Regions from separate parts of the Homo sapiens genome. Here all the other regions are linked to region 2. Evidence: promoter capture Hi-C in 16 types of primary human blood cells and fetal thymus (Javierre and others, 2016). All regions are on one chromosome and are shown on one strand. Each heading gives the region's core, a stretch centred on a gene start or on the middle of the fragment in contact. The rest is flanking DNA. Distances are from core to core; before and after follow the strand shown. Region 1 holds the start of LRRC7 (leucine rich repeat containing 7). Region 2 holds the start of DEPDC1 (DEP domain containing 1). Region 3 overlaps LRRC7 (leucine rich repeat containing 7). Region 4 overlaps LOC105378789 (a long non-coding RNA gene). Region 5 holds the start of ANKRD13C (ankyrin repeat domain 13C). Region 6 overlaps LRRC7 (leucine rich repeat containing 7).

Region 1 (2,700 bases), core at 74-2,573, 1.1 Mb after region 2:
TGGGAACGGTGGCTCACGTCTATAATCCCAGCATTTTGGGAGGCCGAGACAGGTGGATCACCTGAGGTCAGGAATTCGAGACCAGCCTGGGCAACATGGTGAAACCCCCGTCTCTACTAAAAATACAAAAAAAATCATCCGGGCGTGGTGGCACGCGCCTGTAATCCCAGCTACTCGGGAGGCTGAGGCAGGAAGATCGCTTGAACCGGGGAGGAAGAGGTTGCAGTGAGCCGAGATCGCGCCATTGTACTCCAGCCTGGTCAACAAGAGCGAAACTCCGTTTCAAAAAAAAAAAAAAAAAGTGTAAATATAGTACTAGCTTCATTGATATGTCTTGCTGCTTCTGGGACTTTAGAGAAGCGTATAAGAAGAAAGTGTGTGTGCCTTTACGTAAGGGAGCATATGAGAGAGAGAGAGAGAGTGTGTGTGTGTGTGTGTGTGTGTGTGTGTGTGTGTGTGTGTGTCAGAGAGAATGTTCATGGCAGGAGGAGGGGCGGTGAATATATGAAGGGAAGTTGGGAAAACCCTTCCCTTTTTGTGCACTCCCAGGGCAGCAGCCGCAACCCCAGAATGAGGAGAGGACTTAAGAGCAGGCACAAGGTTCGCTGCCATGACTGATGTGAAGCGACCTGACGCACAAGCGGAGACTTTTCTCCTTGGCAGCCAACAACCTGCAGCAGGCAAGGCGGGCGGGGGAGGAAACCCCGAGGAGGCGCTCCCGGCCGCCTCTTTGCTGAGATAGCAGGAGCAGCAGCCTGAGGAGCCACGAGCTCAGCGTCACTGAGCTAGTGCGGGTGCAGGGGCGCTCAGGCAGGCGCACAGGCCGGGAGCCGCTTCTGCCGCTCAGGCGGCCGCGCTGCAGAAAGCCGCGCCGCGCTGCCCGAGCGCCCGGGGCTGGCCCGCGAGCGGGAGGAGCCGGCAGCCGCGCTCCGCCCCGCGCTGAGATTCGTGCCACCTGCCTCGAACACCACGGAGGCGAGAGGAACCCAGAGAGCTCGGCCTCTCGTCCCGTTCTCGAAAAGCAGCCTATCGTGACGGAGCCGGGAGAAGGCTAGCGTTTCAATCCTGTGCAGGACTGGGATTTTTCTTCTCATAATTTGGGGGAGCCGGAGTAGAGGTCAGAGGGACAGGCGAGGATCTCAAAAAGAGACCGAGGGTTGTGAACATGGTTACCCCCTCCTATCATTGGAAAATCTCCTTGACATTTTTCACACTTTGAAGCAGCTGCAGCTGGTGTCGTCGGAAAAGGGGGTGGGAAAAAAGAGAGGGGGCGGGGAGAGCGGTGAGACACAGCCAAGAGCCATGAGCGGCGCCTCCTCGCCTGCCAATCCTGGCACCTGTGCGCCGAGCCACTGCACCGAGGAGGACCCTACTCCGGGTGAACACCGGGCTTGAAGCCACGGACACCCAGCCCCAGTGCAGCGGGTTCTCGCCGGCGGGACCTGCAGCCGCCCACTCGGGCCACCGCCACCGCCTCCTGCAGTTGCGGAGCGCTCAGCCCCTCCGAGACGCCCGCTGCGCCCTGGCCCCTGGGGATCCTCGCCCTGCACAGGCGCGGCAACGGGCAGGGGTTGTTACGGAGTTGGGTGCAGGATTCGCCTTTCCTGCTTGTCTCTTCTCCGCCCAGGATTTATTGTCTGTGGAGCCTTCTGGGGGCGGGGAGGGAGCTGCGCCTCCGCCACCGCCGCCGCCGCCGCCGCTGCTGCTGCGGTCGCTAGCGCGGCGCGCTGGGCAGGCTGAGGCTGGGGAGTGGACGCGCTCCTGCCTCCCCCGCCGGCGCTTCGGGCTTCCCCTCAGCCGCTTCCCGCGGGAACCTCTCCAGCCGTCCACCTGAAGGGCACTGGCATCATGGTCTAACGTGGCACCTTCCTGGATTCCCCTCTATCTCCTGTTCTTCCTACCTTCTACTCCTTCCCTCCTCTTCTCCTCCGAAGACCCTGGCGCCCACTCCACTGCGGACCCCTGAACACTTAAGGAATAACCCTTGGCAGCTGCACGACTACGCTCTCCGAAACCTCATGGGCAGTTTCTCCCGCCGGCGATGTGAGTAAGGCACGCTCGCTCCGTGGCGGAGGGTGCTGCGGGGGCCCGGCCGCGGCGACCGTAGGCGCGCGAGGTGTGGGACCCCAGAGGCCGGCCGGGGGCGGGGGTGGCAGGGCGGGAGGCTTCGGCGCTCGCGGGGAGCTGCTTGTGCGGTGGCCGAGGGAGGCGGCGAAGATGTGGTAGGTTGCAGAGCATTTGGAAATGGGGTGCTAACTGGGCGGGTGCATGGGAGCACCGAGTAGCTTGAGCTGGCAAGAGACCTTAAAGGGTTACATACTGCGAAAAGGAAAGGTAAATGTTGGGCGCTGGTGCTGGGACCATTGGTTCCGCTGAAATTAGGTTTAGCTCCTCGTTATTATCTTGGGTATCTCCAGTCAGCTTTTTTCCCAGAGGTGTCTGAGGGATGAAGCGCGTGTTTGATCGTGACACACACACACACACACTCACACACACTTGTGGCAGGACGCACTTGTCTCTTTATCTTGGAAGGTGTTGTATCAATGTCTCGATGTCTGTTTGAAAAAATACAATTAGAAGATTTTTATGTGATTGGGATTGAAGGGAAAGGGTGGGGTTTGGGGGGATGGAGGGGACGAAGGAACATGAAAGACTGGAGGACGGAAAGAAGTGGGGGAGCGTGTTCCCTGGGAGTCAGGG
Region 2 (2,700 bases), core at 131-2,630:
GCTGGTTTCCCAGCTCTAGCTCTGCCACTATTGTTTATGACTTTTTGGGCCTATCTTCAATCTCTATGCCTCAATCTCCTTAACCACAAAACAGGGACAAAAGGACCTAACGAATGGGCTTATTGGAATGATAAAATGATGTAATATATGTGAAGTACTAGTAAGCATTCAGTGCATGTTTTCTTTTTCAGCGTGCTTATACTACTTTCATCTAATGGGTTTTAAATAATGTGGCAGGACTACTGATTGAGGTTCCTTCCTGTCCTAAATTCTATCCTTCATATTGGTAAATATAGCCAATAACTTACTAAGTAGCAGAATCCATGTAAGATCGCCATACCAGGAAGATCTGAATTCTAGCTCTGCCACTTGCTGTTGATGTGACTCTAGAGGGCATTTAACGTCTGTGAGCCTCAGTGTGCACCTGATAAAGTAGGGCTAATAATACATGCTCGTCTGAAGGGCATTCCTAAGAGGAAAATGCTTGTTATTCTGCAGATCACAACACACTTTAAAAAACAGCATCCTCCTGGGAAACCCCTTAAGGCAAGCATGTATTAGTAACCTTTACCAATGTGGAAACAGGCTCACAGAAGGTAGGGGACTCACCTAACGTCACATAACCAGCACCACAGTATCCTATAGAACCGAAGACCCAACTGCACAAAACGCGTTAGGAGTGCTGTACGTGCAATTCAGGGACCACCAGCAGTGGTTACTGATGGGTACTCAGAAATACCGTTTTGAAACAGGCAGCTGTTATCCTAGTGCTATTCGGCCGATACATCCTGCGTTAAATTCTATGGGTTCAATAAACAAAATTGCCACATTCGGGCTTGCCCCCCACCTAACCCTACAAAGCTTTGGACCTCATTCCCAATTGTTCCCTAATTCTGAGGCGGGTAGAAAATCAGGCGAGGTGAGCGGCCAAATCGGAATATTCTAAGACGCCCCCACGGGACGCCGGCCACACCAGGCACAGGAGTCGCTCCTCATAGCGAGTCTGGTGCGGCCTACGCGCGGCGCTTCCTTTCGGACCTGAGGCCCAGACCCTCAAAATAGAGGGAGCGGTGAGTCTGGCAAGGGTTGCATACCCGCTACTTCTCCTCGCCAGCCTTTTCACTGAACCTAGGGATCCTGGGACTCATCCCTCCGACCGAGGTAAAACTGCGAACGGTCGAGGTAAAACTGCGAACAGTGGTGACTGCCGTCAGCCCGCTGACCGGTCCCGTCTATCCGAGCTGTCTTACCAGCTTGGTGGCCCGATAAGGCCCGGGAGGCACACCCTGACTCTCCATAGGTCTGTCAGCGCCCGGTGGCGTCCATGGCGGCGAAGGCGACACTCAGGCCCAGCGGCCGCGGCAGTGGCGAGTCTCGGCACAACCGTTGGCCCCGCCGCCGATTTGAATAGCATAGAGGGCTGCGCGGATTGGCCGCGCCGCGGGTCACGTGACGCCACAGCCAGGCTCGGGAAGGAGTCGGCGAGGGCCGCTCGGCTGCGTCCTGGGGCTCCAGTAGCTGGCGCGGGCTGGGGTGGGCTGGGCTGGCCTGGGACCGCCTCGATGGGACAGGCTCGGGTTTCCCTGGCGCTGTTTCTCCCTCCTGCGGTCTACGGCGAGGCGGAGTCACAGAGTCCTGTTTTCGTGCTCAGAGGGGATGAGCTCTTTAGTTCCAAACGAAATTATTTGGAGTCCAGCCTTTGGTTTAAGGGAATTTGAAATTTGAAAAGACAAGAAAATACGGTTTTTCTGCCTGGCCCTACAGGATCTTCAGCAGTTAGCTTAGAAGGCAAAGCAACCTGATGGATATGTGTCGCAGTTTCTCTCTCTGCTGCCTATCCTCTCTCTCAGCAGGTGCCATGATTCTCTGAAGTGCTAAAATCTAGGTTCAGAACCCCCTAATTGTGCAGTAAAATGGATCATTCAGAACCCCCCAGTTGGGTAATAAAATGGATTATAGGTAGTCTTTCTTAAGTACATACAATGTGGGGCTTGGGAAAGGTTGTGTACAACTTGTCAAATTGCTTCCCTTAAACTCTACCACTGTATAAGAATGTTGGTTATGTTTGGATCGTGATTATACACTTAAAATTTCACTAGGATCTTAGAAAATAAATCTTCAACAGAAGTCAATTTTCAAATGACAAAAACTACATTCCGAGAGTTGAAGAGACTTACTCAGTCTTAGGTCTCCTTGGCAAAGCACAGACTTCATGCTTTTAATAAATACCCTGTCACCAGTCTGAAACTATCTGATGCTAAGAATCCCTTAGTAAAGTGGGAGATTGCTTGAGTGATTTGAAGCTGTGGAAGAATTCACTTGGAAATTAAATAGCAGTTTAAGAGGATAGGATGCAGTAAAAAGAAGAGATAAAGAAAAATGTTCAGGGAGTGGTAGTGTAGGTCTGTGGAGTTTTCCTTAATTTGGGCAGAAGCACATCTATTTTCTACCAGGACCAGTGGGTAGGAATTTTCAAAAACATACTTGGTAAACAGGAACAATCTACTCAATTTTCCACTTATGTTAAGGAAAAGTAAAATGATTGATGTTACAAAATAATGTTAACTGTTTCTTACCTGGCTTTATGATACATTGTCCCAGGATTTTCGTTTTTCTTTTCTTTTTCCTTTCAGAAGGAAATGGAGATGAGACTGTGGAAGCCAAAATTTATTTTTGCCCAGCTCCCCAAGTTGAAAATCA
Region 3 (2,700 bases), core at 107-2,606, 1.2 Mb after region 2:
GTGGAACCTACTGCTCCTTTCTTTTGGCTGATTTCTCCCTTTTGGAATGGGAAAGTTTACCCAATGCCTATACCACCATTATATCTTGGAAGTAAATAACTTGTTTTTTTAATTTACAGGCTCATAGGAGTCTCAGATGGGACTTTGAACTTCGGACTTGGGACTTTTGAATGATGCTGGAATTAGTTAAGACTTTTGAGGACGATCAGGAAGTGATGATTGTATTTTGCAATGTGAGAAGAACAAGAGATGATGTGGAGGGACAGGAGTGGAATGATATGGCTTAGATATTTTCTCCCCTCCAAATCTCATGTTGAAATGTGACCTCCAGTGTTTAACATGGGCCTAGTAGATGTGTTTAGGTCATGGGGCAGATTCCTCATGAGGCTTGGTGCTGTCCTCGTGATAATGCGTGAGTTCCTGCTCTGAGTTCATGTGAGACGTGATTGTTTAAAATCACTCTCTCTTGCTTCCACTCGTCATGTGATATGCTAGTTCTCATGTTGCCTTCTGCCATGAATTTATAAGCTTCCTTAAGACCTCACCAGAAGCAGATGCTGGCACCACACTTCTTGTACAGCCCACAGAACCATAAGCCAAAATAAACCTCTTTTCTTTATAAATTACCCAGCTTCAGGTATTCCTTTATATGAATGCAAATGGACTAACACATCTGATAATAGCTGAAACATCTGCTTTTCTACCTTCCTTTTTAAGATCAATCAGATCTGGGTCTATCCTTTTGCTCTTAATATTTGTTTCTTTCAAGCATCAAGATTCCATTCTCTATTTCATGGCTATCTAATTTGTCTCATAAAATCTCTATGTTTCTCATAAGGAAATCTCTCTTTTCCTCCAAAGTAATCAACTAGTTTTTCTATTTTTTTATTTTTTTCCCACTTCTTCCGTTCTAATAAGAAAACTAAAACATGCCTCTTTCACACAACTGCAATTCCTCCTGGATATTTTACACAAACTCAATTCTTAAAATCCAGGTGCTCCAAACACAGCCTTTATTCTTTCTCTTCATAGCCTTTAAGTGTGCAATAATTTTAATAACTTGTTTGTTACCTTGTTCAATTCCACTGAAGATAGAGTAGATTCTCTGTATAGTAAGCACTTGCAACTACTTTTCATGTTTTTTAATCAGATTCACTACCCCGCTGTGGGCAAAACCATAATAAGTGTTCTCTGAGTTACAAGACCATGGACAGTGCTTGTGTGATAACACAGTTCAAAGATCAAGATCAAACTGCAGTAGCTCAGCCAGTATCTACTCAGGCCAGCAGGGGCTATACACTAATGATAAAATTGTCCCATCTGCCCCAAAACAACTATTTGCTTAGGAATAAAACTGCTATGCCCTACAATAAACCCCAAAGTCAAAATCTTGCATAGCTAAAGCTGACAGCCCATAGCCCCATGCCCTAGTTTCGCTAAAAATGTCTCCAGGTGTTATTTGAGTCACCAAAATCTACTTTGTGTCTATTTATGTTCATTAGTGATAAAACTGATATTGGAGGAGGTGGTTTAAGTGCATGGCTACAAGGATCTTCCTAAGACTTAGTGCATCTAGCCTCATCCCATGGGGCTTACTGCTGTACAACTGAGGCCTTGGAGGCAAAACCAAATATCCTCAGGTAGACTCCAGAAGAAAGATAGGGGAAGTGTCTGAGCTTTGCATCTGTGCTCACATCTTCAGACCCTGCCAATCAGACAATTCCTTAAACATTTGTGAGAAAGAAAAAATGGGGCAAGAGTTCAGGAAGTTTAGGGAAAGTGCCTCCTCTTGAAGCCTGAGAAGTGAGCAACAAGTCTGTCCTCTCCAACAATACTCCAGTGGCATTTATAACTATCCGCAAGCTCTGACAGAAGTTTTTGTGGACTCAGTCTGCCATGATATGACTGCACATCAATATCTAGAACACCCGTTCTGGATTAAAGTGCAATCGAGAGAGCCTCTCTTGATAAGACTTGCATATATTCAAGGCACATAATCTCATGAAGATTGCCCTATTTTAGCTTAATTTAGTTTCAACCCCCAGCACTTTCTTATACTGATGACAGTCTATCTGATATTTGACAAAAATGATGCATTGCCAAAACATGTAATCCAGAATGTCTTCCAAATCATGCCCCAGAAAGCAATGGCTCTCGCCAAAGCTACAATTAACTAAATGAATAAGAAGCTTCCCGTAATCTTATAGAGAAACCCATCTAGATCTCCTTTTATTATTTCTGCTTCCTAGGAATATCCAGAAAACTGAACAAAATTTCTAGTACCCTTCCTCACCCCTGCAACCAGGCTCATGGCATTCTCCTTCTATTCTAGACATCCCAGTATGTATAACTGAGAGTTTGAACAACCATATTTCATGACACAATTAAGATGTAACTGTATTTTCATTACCTTCTGTGCATTGAAAGGGGGATAGTCTTACCCTGCCTTGATATCATTAATTCATCATTAGGTAATAAACAGCCTTGTGATTGCTTTAATTCACATAACATGGTCTCAATGTTGTTGTTAGACTATCTCAGTCCAAATTATTGGTCAATGCTTTAGTCTTCATTCAAATTTTAGATTTTTCCTACCTCACTCACCTTCCCATCTGTAACTCTCTGTCTGTCTGACTTTAAGCTATAAAGTATAGTCAAACTTACTCCTATCCCTTTTGCCTTCTCTCTGACTTCTTTGCT
Region 4 (2,700 bases), core at 171-2,670, 1.0 Mb after region 2:
CCCTTAGAATTAATAACTAATTGAACTAATAGCTATTTACTAGTCAGAAGTTTCTGGATATAAGTTCAATATCTAAAAATCAATAATAATTCCCATCTAATATCAATATCAGTTAGAAAATACAAGTTTTAAAGAAATGGTTATATTTACAATATGAAAATAATTTGTAACTAAACATAAATCTTAATGGTCAGAAAGATCATGAACTCATGAAAGAATATTTTATTATATCTAGCAATCTAACATATTCATCAGTTGTAAACCCATGCTTGCTAAAAGACAAATTTTCCCTAAATTGAATCTGTACATTCAATGCTATTCCAATCAAAATTTTATCAGGGTTTTTCAGTAATTTTTGAAAAGCTTAATCAAAAATTTGTGTTTTGGTTAACGGATGAACCAGAATAGCCAGGAATATTTTGAAGTATAATGAAGGGGAACTTGTCCTATCAGATACTAGAACTTACTATATTTATTTTATTATAGACTCATTTGATATAGTGTCACTTGTAACAGTGAAACAGAAATGGTTCCACAAGTACAGGGGAAATTGATTTATAACAAATTTTGGAAATTAGTAGAAGAAAGACCAAATAGTTAATATATGGCATTGGGAAAATCAGCTATCATATGACATAACAATGAATTATTGCTATTTTCTTCTCATTTCCAGGAAAACTCACCCAAAGAAACTTCAATGTTTTTATCATCCAGTATTCCTTTAACTTGAAGTTTTGTTTGTTTGTTTGTTTGTTTTTTGGGTTTTGTTTTTTTTTTTTTGCCTGCCAGTATACCAGGCTCTTGATCTTTCCATTTTATTTGTTTCTTTCTGATCTCAAGCTCTTCCCTAGATTTCTTGGTTGATTACATGAACCACTCTCTCATCAACACCCTCAGATTCTTCAAATTCATGGGGTTTTTTTGTTTGTTTTTTGTTTTTGTTTTTGTTTTTTTATATTCCATATGGAAAAATCCCAACCTTGGATCAATTTCACAGTTGGCCTTTTCTGATCCAGAACACTGACTGCATGGTAAAAATTACACAGTCATGCACACTGGTGCCATGTAGATTCAAATTCATGGATTTCAGTCTCAGCACTCGATCACTGTTTATATTTAACCAGAACTTTGGTTATCTCCTCTATAGGACTTTTTGGACCTTCACTATTTTTTCAGTTTTCTTCAAATCTCCTATTCTAATTACTCTCAGCAAATATCTTTCCTTCCTTCTTTAACAAAAATTTAAGGCTGTTTGGCCTGAAATACCTCGTCTCCTCTGCTGTCCACTTAGAAACATTTGACATTTTTGCGCATGCACACTTCTTTCTTCCTACCTGCCTCAGGAGCAGAGGTGGCTCTCATCCTATTCTTGATGTAGCCTTCCTTTTGTAATCTTGATCTGACCCAACTTCATGGCCTTTGGGACCTTGCTCTATTCTCCTTTCTCTATATCTTCAATAGCTTACTCTGAGTAACTCATTTCCCTCCATGTAAACATCTTCATGTCTCACCCATCAAAAGCAAATATTTCCCATCGAGGGTCTCCCCTCTAGCCACTGCCCCATTTTACTCCTTCCTCAACCAAGCTCCTTGGAAAAAAAACTGTGACACTCACTGCTCCCATTTTCTTACCTCCCACTCTTCAATCTCCTAAAACAAGCAAACAACAAACAAAAATGTCTTAACATCCCCAGGAAGTTCATGGATCATTTAGCAGTGCATCCCAATGCACTCATCTTTCTAAACTTTTCACTTGTATTTTACTTGTGGTTCATTTGTTCCTTTTTAAAACTCTACATTCATTCTTAGCATTTCAAGAAAATTTGTATCTTGAAATATTCTTTTTGTCAAAAGGTCTCTGTGATCAAGTTTAAGAGAAAAAAGCAATAGAACACTTTTTTGCAGATCTTTACATACATGATTATATTTAAGTGTAAACGCATACTTTTTTACTCCTCTGTCATAAAAATCATGCTCACTACAATATTTCCATTAGTCTAGCTTCAGGGAATGGAAAATGGAGGGAATATTTTCTCTGGAAGGAGTATTCTATGGATGAAAGGAAATCTGGTCAAATCCTGGGGAAGTGGAAATTTCGCCTCTTTGATTTCAGATAGATACTTGGAAGGACAAGAGATCCTGAAGAGGAGGAATTAAGCGACGGGATGTGTGTGGCCTGTTCTTTCATTTCCAGCCTAAAGTAGGGCTGTTTGCTATGTAGGTGAGGGGAAATTCAGGGGCAGAAAGGCCATTCTGTCATTGGTTTTAGTAGGGAGAACCTCCTGCAAAAGTATTCTGCATAACCAATGGCAACTATATTAATGTGTTTAAACAAAGTCAAGTCAGTGGCATCATGTGTTTGGACAGAGGCTAACAAGAGTTACCCGTCCAGTGTCAATTCCAGCTTGCCCTGTGGGTTTAGCAGGTGGCCAGAAGTTCCAAGTGGCCTTCGAGAGGCACGCAAAGCTGCTGGCTAGCAAGCTTACCCTACGAGTTGCTGTGACTGGGAAAAGTAACTCTGCAGTTGTAGATTAGGGTTCAGTTAAGGTACATCCAGACCTCAAGTGCTGGTGAGGACTAAGATAGGGTCGAGTTATCAGGGAAGACAACAGGCCCTGGCCAAACTCAGAAAAAACATCATATGCTCACCAGCTGCCAACTTGGATAGTAAATTTTAGCTGAAAGAGCAGTGACCAAGTA
Region 5 (2,700 bases), core at 160-2,659, 1.9 Mb after region 2:
TCATCAAGATGAGACATTACTATTAGCAATTATCTACTTAAAACAAGCAAAAAATCAAATCTCTACTCAAACAAAAATCGGCTGTTGAGAAGTCACTTTAACTGTTCTACGTATCAAATACCAACAAATTTCTACTGTGTGGCTTTCAGAAATCTAACATTCTAAGTTTACTGAAAGCAGACAAAAAAGAAACAACCTGGTGGCAGGCAAAATCACAACCAGTTGCAGTCAAGATGGGATCTGTATGTGAGCAATGAAGGGAGGAGGGCAATTTATGCGTTCAAAATTTAAAATGCCAAGGTAGGGGGAAGAGAGAGAAATAAAGATATATAGCTCCATAAACAAAGGGAGAAAACCATGTTGGGTGGGAGGCAACCTAAAATTTCTGACAGTCCAGAATCAGCAAATCGAAGGCCTGTCTCAAACAAAACAGCTTCTCACGACAAACTTTGAAGTGGGCAAGGAGGATACATTCCTTTGCACCCACAAGAACCAACCCCTTGACCACTGGCACGCTATTACTGAGTCGATCATGATTTACCGAACGGCCCGGATGATGGGCAAAAAGAAGAGTCTGCTGGAGGGGGCCTAGGATTCCAGAAGCCTGGGGAGGCACACCCTAGGCTCGGGGAAGGAGAGAGGTGGAGAGGGGCTAGCACTCCTCACCGTGATTATCTTTCTGCCCGATATTGTGCGTGCGGATGAGAGAGGAGAGTCTCCTCACATCCCCCTTGAAGACGCACTCGTGCACCGGGTAGTGTGCGGGGCAACTGCCTCCATCCGCGACGACAGCAACGGGGTTGGTGCCGGCCAGAAGGGCCGGGGACTGGGAGTTGGCAGTCACGGAGGAATTGTGCAGCGGCAGAGCCGGGGCGCCGGGGGGATTGGAGGAGGCCGGAGCTGCCTTCAGCTGTAGCCGGTGGTGATGGTTACTGAAGATCTTATGACAAGCTTTGCCGCCCTTGCCAATCCTGCTTCTGGTAAAGGTACCGCCGAGGGCAGCCGCCGCTTCCTCATCCCCGGGCTCCAGCAGGTCCCCTTCTTCTTTGCTGGGCTTGTGGTCCCTCCGCAGTGAGCGGATCTTCTCCCCGGTCATCGCCGCCGCCAGGGGCAAGGGGGGGAATCGGGAGGCTCACCGCTGGCGACGGAGCTGGCGCTGCGGCGGCACAAGGCGATTAGAGCGGTGGCCAAGAGCCTCCAGCGCAGCATGAACTCCCACTGAGCCCCCGAGCCTGGGACAAACGCATCTCCCGGGGAAGAGCCGGCTCTCGCCTAGGCACGAAGGGACGCGCGCTCGCTGGGGGAAGCTAGAACTCAGGTGCCCACGACACCAGGATCTCAGTCTCGCCGTCGCAGCCGCCGTCGCTGCCTTACACCGAAAAACAGGGCACGGCCATCTTCCTCTTGCTCCTCTCGCGAGAGCTCCCCCAGGAGTGAAGAGAGAGAAAACACCGCGATAAGTGAGCCACCCGCTCCCTCCCTCGCACCTTCTATTCCCAGAATCACTAGGCGCCGGCGCCTCCGAGGCAGTGTGTTTCCGCCCAGAGCTGGAGTCTCCCAGCTGCCAGCCGACCCCGAACCCGCACTCCCGCCAACCGCGCTTTTTGTGGGCGGTCGGAAACCACAGCCTCCGTTGGATATGTTCGGTGCATGTTATAAACAACCACTTAAACCCTCCGGATCTGAGCCTCCCGCAGAGGAATGCAGAATGACGCCACGGCACGCAGGATGTGATGTCACCGAGATGCAGAGGATACTCAGTCAACCAACATTTACTGAGCATCTACTTCGTGCCGTATGTACGAAGCTAGCAAATATGTACAGCACCAGTACTGATTGCAGGGAGCACTGTAGAAGAGGAATGAAGGCCAAACAATTAAAAGCGGAGGCGGGGAGGTGGGTTGCACACAAAAAAGGGAGGGACGAATTTTAGTGTTGAGTTGTCAGGAAAGTCATAGAAGAGTTTAGGTGCTGACTTTGGAAAATGATGGGCTGTCCAGCAATCGGAAAGAGGGGAGGCCACTCAAATATTTATTAGATGAATGAATTTCGGGCAGATGTCAGAGTTAACATATATGAGGGTGGGGACACTCAAGGAGGGCAAAGAATCGTGTAACTGAAATATAATTGTATTAGTTCATGGCCAACCTCAACCTAGTGTCAAACTCTGAAGAAACGTAAATCTGCCAACCATAAAACTTTAACAAAGTAACTAAAGCTGGCCACTGAGGACGTAAGGAGGGGGCTTAGCAAAACATCCTAAAGATCTTCACCCATTTAACTCTCCAAAGTCCCCCTATGTTCTGAGAGCAAATACTTCAGATCTCTCTCTCTTTTTTTTGTTTTTTTGTTTTTTTGACAGAGTCTCTGTAGTCCAGGCTAGAGTGCAGTGGTGCAATCTCGGCTCACTGCGACCTCCACCTCCCAGGTCCAAGCGATTCTCCTGCCTCAGCCTCCAGAGTAGCTGGGATTATAGGCCTGCGCCACCACACCAAGCTAATTGTTGTATTTTTAGTAGAGACGGGGTTTCACCGTGTTGGCCAGGCTGGTCTTGAACCCCTGACCTCAGTGATCCGCCAGCCTCAGCCTCCCAAAGTGCTGGGATTACAGGCATGAGCCACTGCGCCCGGCCAGATCTCTTCTTTCTTAAAGTTTATACTACTGCTAACTCATCTCCGCAAACAAACAACTCGATGGGCC
Region 6 (2,700 bases), core at 28-2,527, 1.2 Mb after region 2:
AAACCATTTTTCCCTCCTAGGCCTTCAGGCCTGTGATGAGAGGGGCTGCCATGAGGGTCTCTGACATCCCTGGAGACATTTTCCCCATTGTCTTGGTGATTAGTATTTGGCATCTGGTTACTTATGTAAATTTCTGCAGTGGGCTTGAATGTCTTTCCAGAAAATGGGTTTTTCTTTTTTACAGCGTTGTCAGGCTGCAAATTTTTTAAACTTTTATTCCCTGCTTCCTCTTAAGTGCTTTGCTGCATAGAAATTTCTTCCATCAGATACCCTAAATCATCCCTCTCAAGTTCAAAGTTCCACAGATCTCAAGGGCAGGGACAAAATGCCACCAGTCTCTTTGCTTAGCAAGAGTGACTTTTACTCCAGTTTCCAAGTTCCTCATCTCCATCTGAGACCACCTCATCCTGCACTTTATTGTCCATATCACTATTAACATTTTGGTCAAAGCCATTCAAGTTTCTAGGCAACTCCAAACTTTTCCACATCTTCCTTTCTTCTGAGTCCTCCAAGTCTCTAGGAAGCTCCAAACTTTTCCACATTTTCCTATCTTCTTCTGAACGCTTCCAACTGTCCCAACCTCTGCCTATTACCAGTTCCAAAGTAGCTTCCACATTTTCAGCTATCTTTAGAGCAGCTCCCCACTACCTGGTGCCAATTTACTGTATTAGTCTGTTCTCATACTACTAATAAAGATATACCTGAGACTAGGTAATTTATAAAGGAAAGAGCTTTAATTGACTCACAATTCAGGGCTCAGGAGGCCTCAGAAAACTTACAATCATAACAGAAGGGGAATCAAGAATATCTATCTTCACATGGCGGCAGCAAGCAGTGCCGAGAAAAAGGGGAAAAAGCTCCTTATAAAACCATGAGATCTCGGCCGGGTGCAGTGGCTCACACCTGTAATCCCAGCACCTTGGGAGGCTGAGGTGGGCGGATCATGAAGTCAGGAGATAGAGACCATCTTATGCTAATGCAGTGAAACCCCATCTCTACTAAAAATACAAAAAAATAGCCGGATGTGGTGGCGGGCGTCTGTAGTCCCAGCTACTCGGGAGGCTGAGGCTAGAGAATGGTGTGAACCTGGGAGGCTGAGCTTGCAGTGAGCCAAGATCACGCCACTGCACTCCAGCAAGACTCCATTACCCCCACCCCCAAAAAAACCATGAGACCTCATGAGAACTCACTCACTATTACAAGAACAGCAGCATGTGGGTAACTGCCCCCATGATTCAATTACCTCCCACCAGGTTCCTCCCACAATATGTGGGGATTATGGGAACTACAATTCAAGATAAGATTTGGGTGGAGATATAGCCCAACCATATCAAGTATAAACTTACTATTGTTTTACCAAAATGTGGAAGAAACACAAGAAAATGTGCTTATTTGGAGGATGCTAACAGGAAATAAACTGTTCCTAACTTAGCCCTCTGAAAAAGAGAATGATAAATGTATTTAGACATCCTCTTCAAAGGTAACTTTTTGTTTGCATTGTACATTTGAAAGGTGTTCACTTTGCTATTGCAGAACCAATTTGAAAAACATTATCTGGGACAAAATGTTCAATGTCCAAAGTATTAAAAGGTGTCTCCATCTATGAAAGTTAGCAAATCTATACAAGGATTCTCTATTGATGAATTTTGAAAGAGGGAGAATATCATTAGATGTTCTGGGCAGTTTATAAGCACTTATGAAATAGGAGCTACATTATTACAAGATCTTGCTTATTATTAGTGAGAAGTTATCTGGGTACTTCCAAGTAAAATGTGAAAATGTCCTCTCTACTGTCCCTAAATTTTCCCCTTATAGAACAAAAATAACATGTTTATTGCTAACTAGTTAATATATTTAAAATACTAGACAAAGTGTTTTGCTTGATTTCTTTTATACCAATGGAACGATTATTTGAGCCATTCAGTGCCTAGAACATGAAATAAAAAAGGAAAACAGACTCTCGATTAAAAAAAGTATTACATGTTACAAAAGTAATTCCAATTTAGTAGTAATAATAATTAGCTAGTTTTTAAAATACTGACTTTATTTAAAAATGTCTGGAAGATAACTTCAAGAAAAAGCTAAATATTTTTTTAAATAAAGGAAATACTTAATACTAGGGCAAAAAAAGATTTTTTAAAGGTTGTTTAGAATTTTTTAAAGTTCGATAGATTTACACAATCTAATGAAAAATAGGGAAAAAAAATACATACAGCTAATTGCTCAAGGAAAGATGAACACTGTTATGACTAAAATATGCAGTCAGTGAGAAATTCCAAAAGCTCTGGTCAGGTTTTAAAAAAGTCCCTGAAAACTTAGAAATAAAGGATCCAATAGTTTTCCCAAATTCACAGAACTTTAAAAGAGCAATTATTTAAAGGCCAGTATGTTAACATTCTGTTGCAAGAGAATTTTTTTTAAGTTTCATATGGACAAGCAGGGACAATAATCTAGAAAGATTAGATTTAAGTAAATATAATAATAAAGTCCCATACTGAAGAAAACAGAATTCTTCAATCCTCAATTGGGCTTTATATATACTTGCAATATTTGGATTCTAAATTTTGAGAAAATGAAGAGTTCATCTGTCTCCTTTTTATATACAAAAATATTTTAGTTTACTTGAACTAAAAATTAAATGTGAATGAGGATGGGGCTGCAACTGACACACTTTTATGAAGATACTTCAATAGAGTAAAC

The links. Contacts are between HindIII fragments. The CHiCAGO score rates a contact against its expected background, and 5 or more counts as called.
Region 1: the fragment with the promoter of LRRC7 here is called in contact with the fragment with the promoter of DEPDC1 in region 2 in 2 of 17 cell types (endothelial precursors and erythroblasts); the score reaches 7.5 in endothelial precursors.
Region 3: a contact is called between a fragment that was not itself captured here and the fragment with the promoter of DEPDC1 in region 2, in 2 of 17 cell types (M2 macrophages and M1 macrophages). The highest score is 7.7, in M2 macrophages.
Region 4: a fragment that was not itself captured here is called in contact with the fragment with the promoter of DEPDC1 in region 2 in 1 of 17 cell types (erythroblasts); the score reaches 5.6 in erythroblasts.
Region 5: a contact is called between the fragment with the promoter of ANKRD13C here and the fragment with the promoter of DEPDC1 in region 2, in 1 of 17 cell types (erythroblasts). The highest score is 6.0, in erythroblasts.
Region 6: a fragment that was not itself captured here is called in contact with the fragment with the promoter of DEPDC1 in region 2 in 1 of 17 cell types (endothelial precursors); the score reaches 7.0 in endothelial precursors.

The regions. Positions count from the first base shown.
Region 1 is chr1:69,566,599-69,569,298 of GRCh38, forward strand. LRRC7 (leucine rich repeat containing 7) reads left to right here and starts at 1,324. Exons shown (of 27, transcript NM_001370785.2): 1 at 1,324-2,043. The coding sequence starts at 2,042. RefSeq lists a silencer at 748-977. The HindIII fragment of the contact is 5,142 bases long and covers 1-2,700 here.
Region 2 is chr1:68,495,702-68,498,401 of GRCh38, forward strand. It overlaps DEPDC1 (DEP domain containing 1), which reads right to left and starts at 1,381. Exons shown (of 12, transcript NM_001114120.3): 1 at 1,251-1,381. The coding sequence starts at 1,298. DEPDC1-AS1 (DEPDC1 antisense RNA 1) reads left to right here and starts at 975. Exons shown (of 3, transcript NR_110671.1): 1 at 975-1,070. RefSeq lists enhancers at 1,062-1,111, 1,222-1,281. The HindIII fragment of the contact is 3,947 bases long and covers 860-2,700 here.
Region 3 is chr1:69,696,301-69,699,000 of GRCh38, forward strand. All of the region lies in intron 2 of LRRC7 (leucine rich repeat containing 7), which reads left to right. Among named protein-coding and RNA genes, the nearest start is that of LRRC7, 130 kb to the left of the region's middle. The HindIII fragment of the contact is 1,661 bases long and covers 527-2,187 here.
Region 4 is chr1:69,537,681-69,540,380 of GRCh38, forward strand. All of the region lies in intron 3 of LOC105378789 (a long non-coding RNA gene), which reads left to right. Among named protein-coding and RNA genes, the nearest start is that of LRRC7, 29 kb to the right of the region's middle. The HindIII fragment of the contact is 2,118 bases long and covers 362-2,479 here.
Region 5 is chr1:70,353,313-70,356,012 of GRCh38, forward strand. It overlaps ANKRD13C (ankyrin repeat domain 13C), which reads right to left and starts at 1,410. Exons shown (of 13, transcript NM_030816.5): 1 at 667-1,410. The coding sequence starts at 1,096. ANKRD13C-DT (ANKRD13C divergent transcript) reads left to right here and starts at 1,499. Exons shown (of 4, transcript NR_168352.1): 1 at 1,499-1,896. RefSeq lists enhancers at 1-1,016, 276-1,194, 1,150-1,199, 1,195-2,112, 1,240-1,299 and 3 more. The HindIII fragment of the contact is 4,699 bases long and covers 950-2,700 here.
Region 6 is chr1:69,730,139-69,732,838 of GRCh38, forward strand. All of the region lies in intron 2 of LRRC7 (leucine rich repeat containing 7), which reads left to right. Among named protein-coding and RNA genes, the nearest start is that of LRRC7, 160 kb to the left of the region's middle. The HindIII fragment of the contact is 3,762 bases long and covers 1-2,700 here.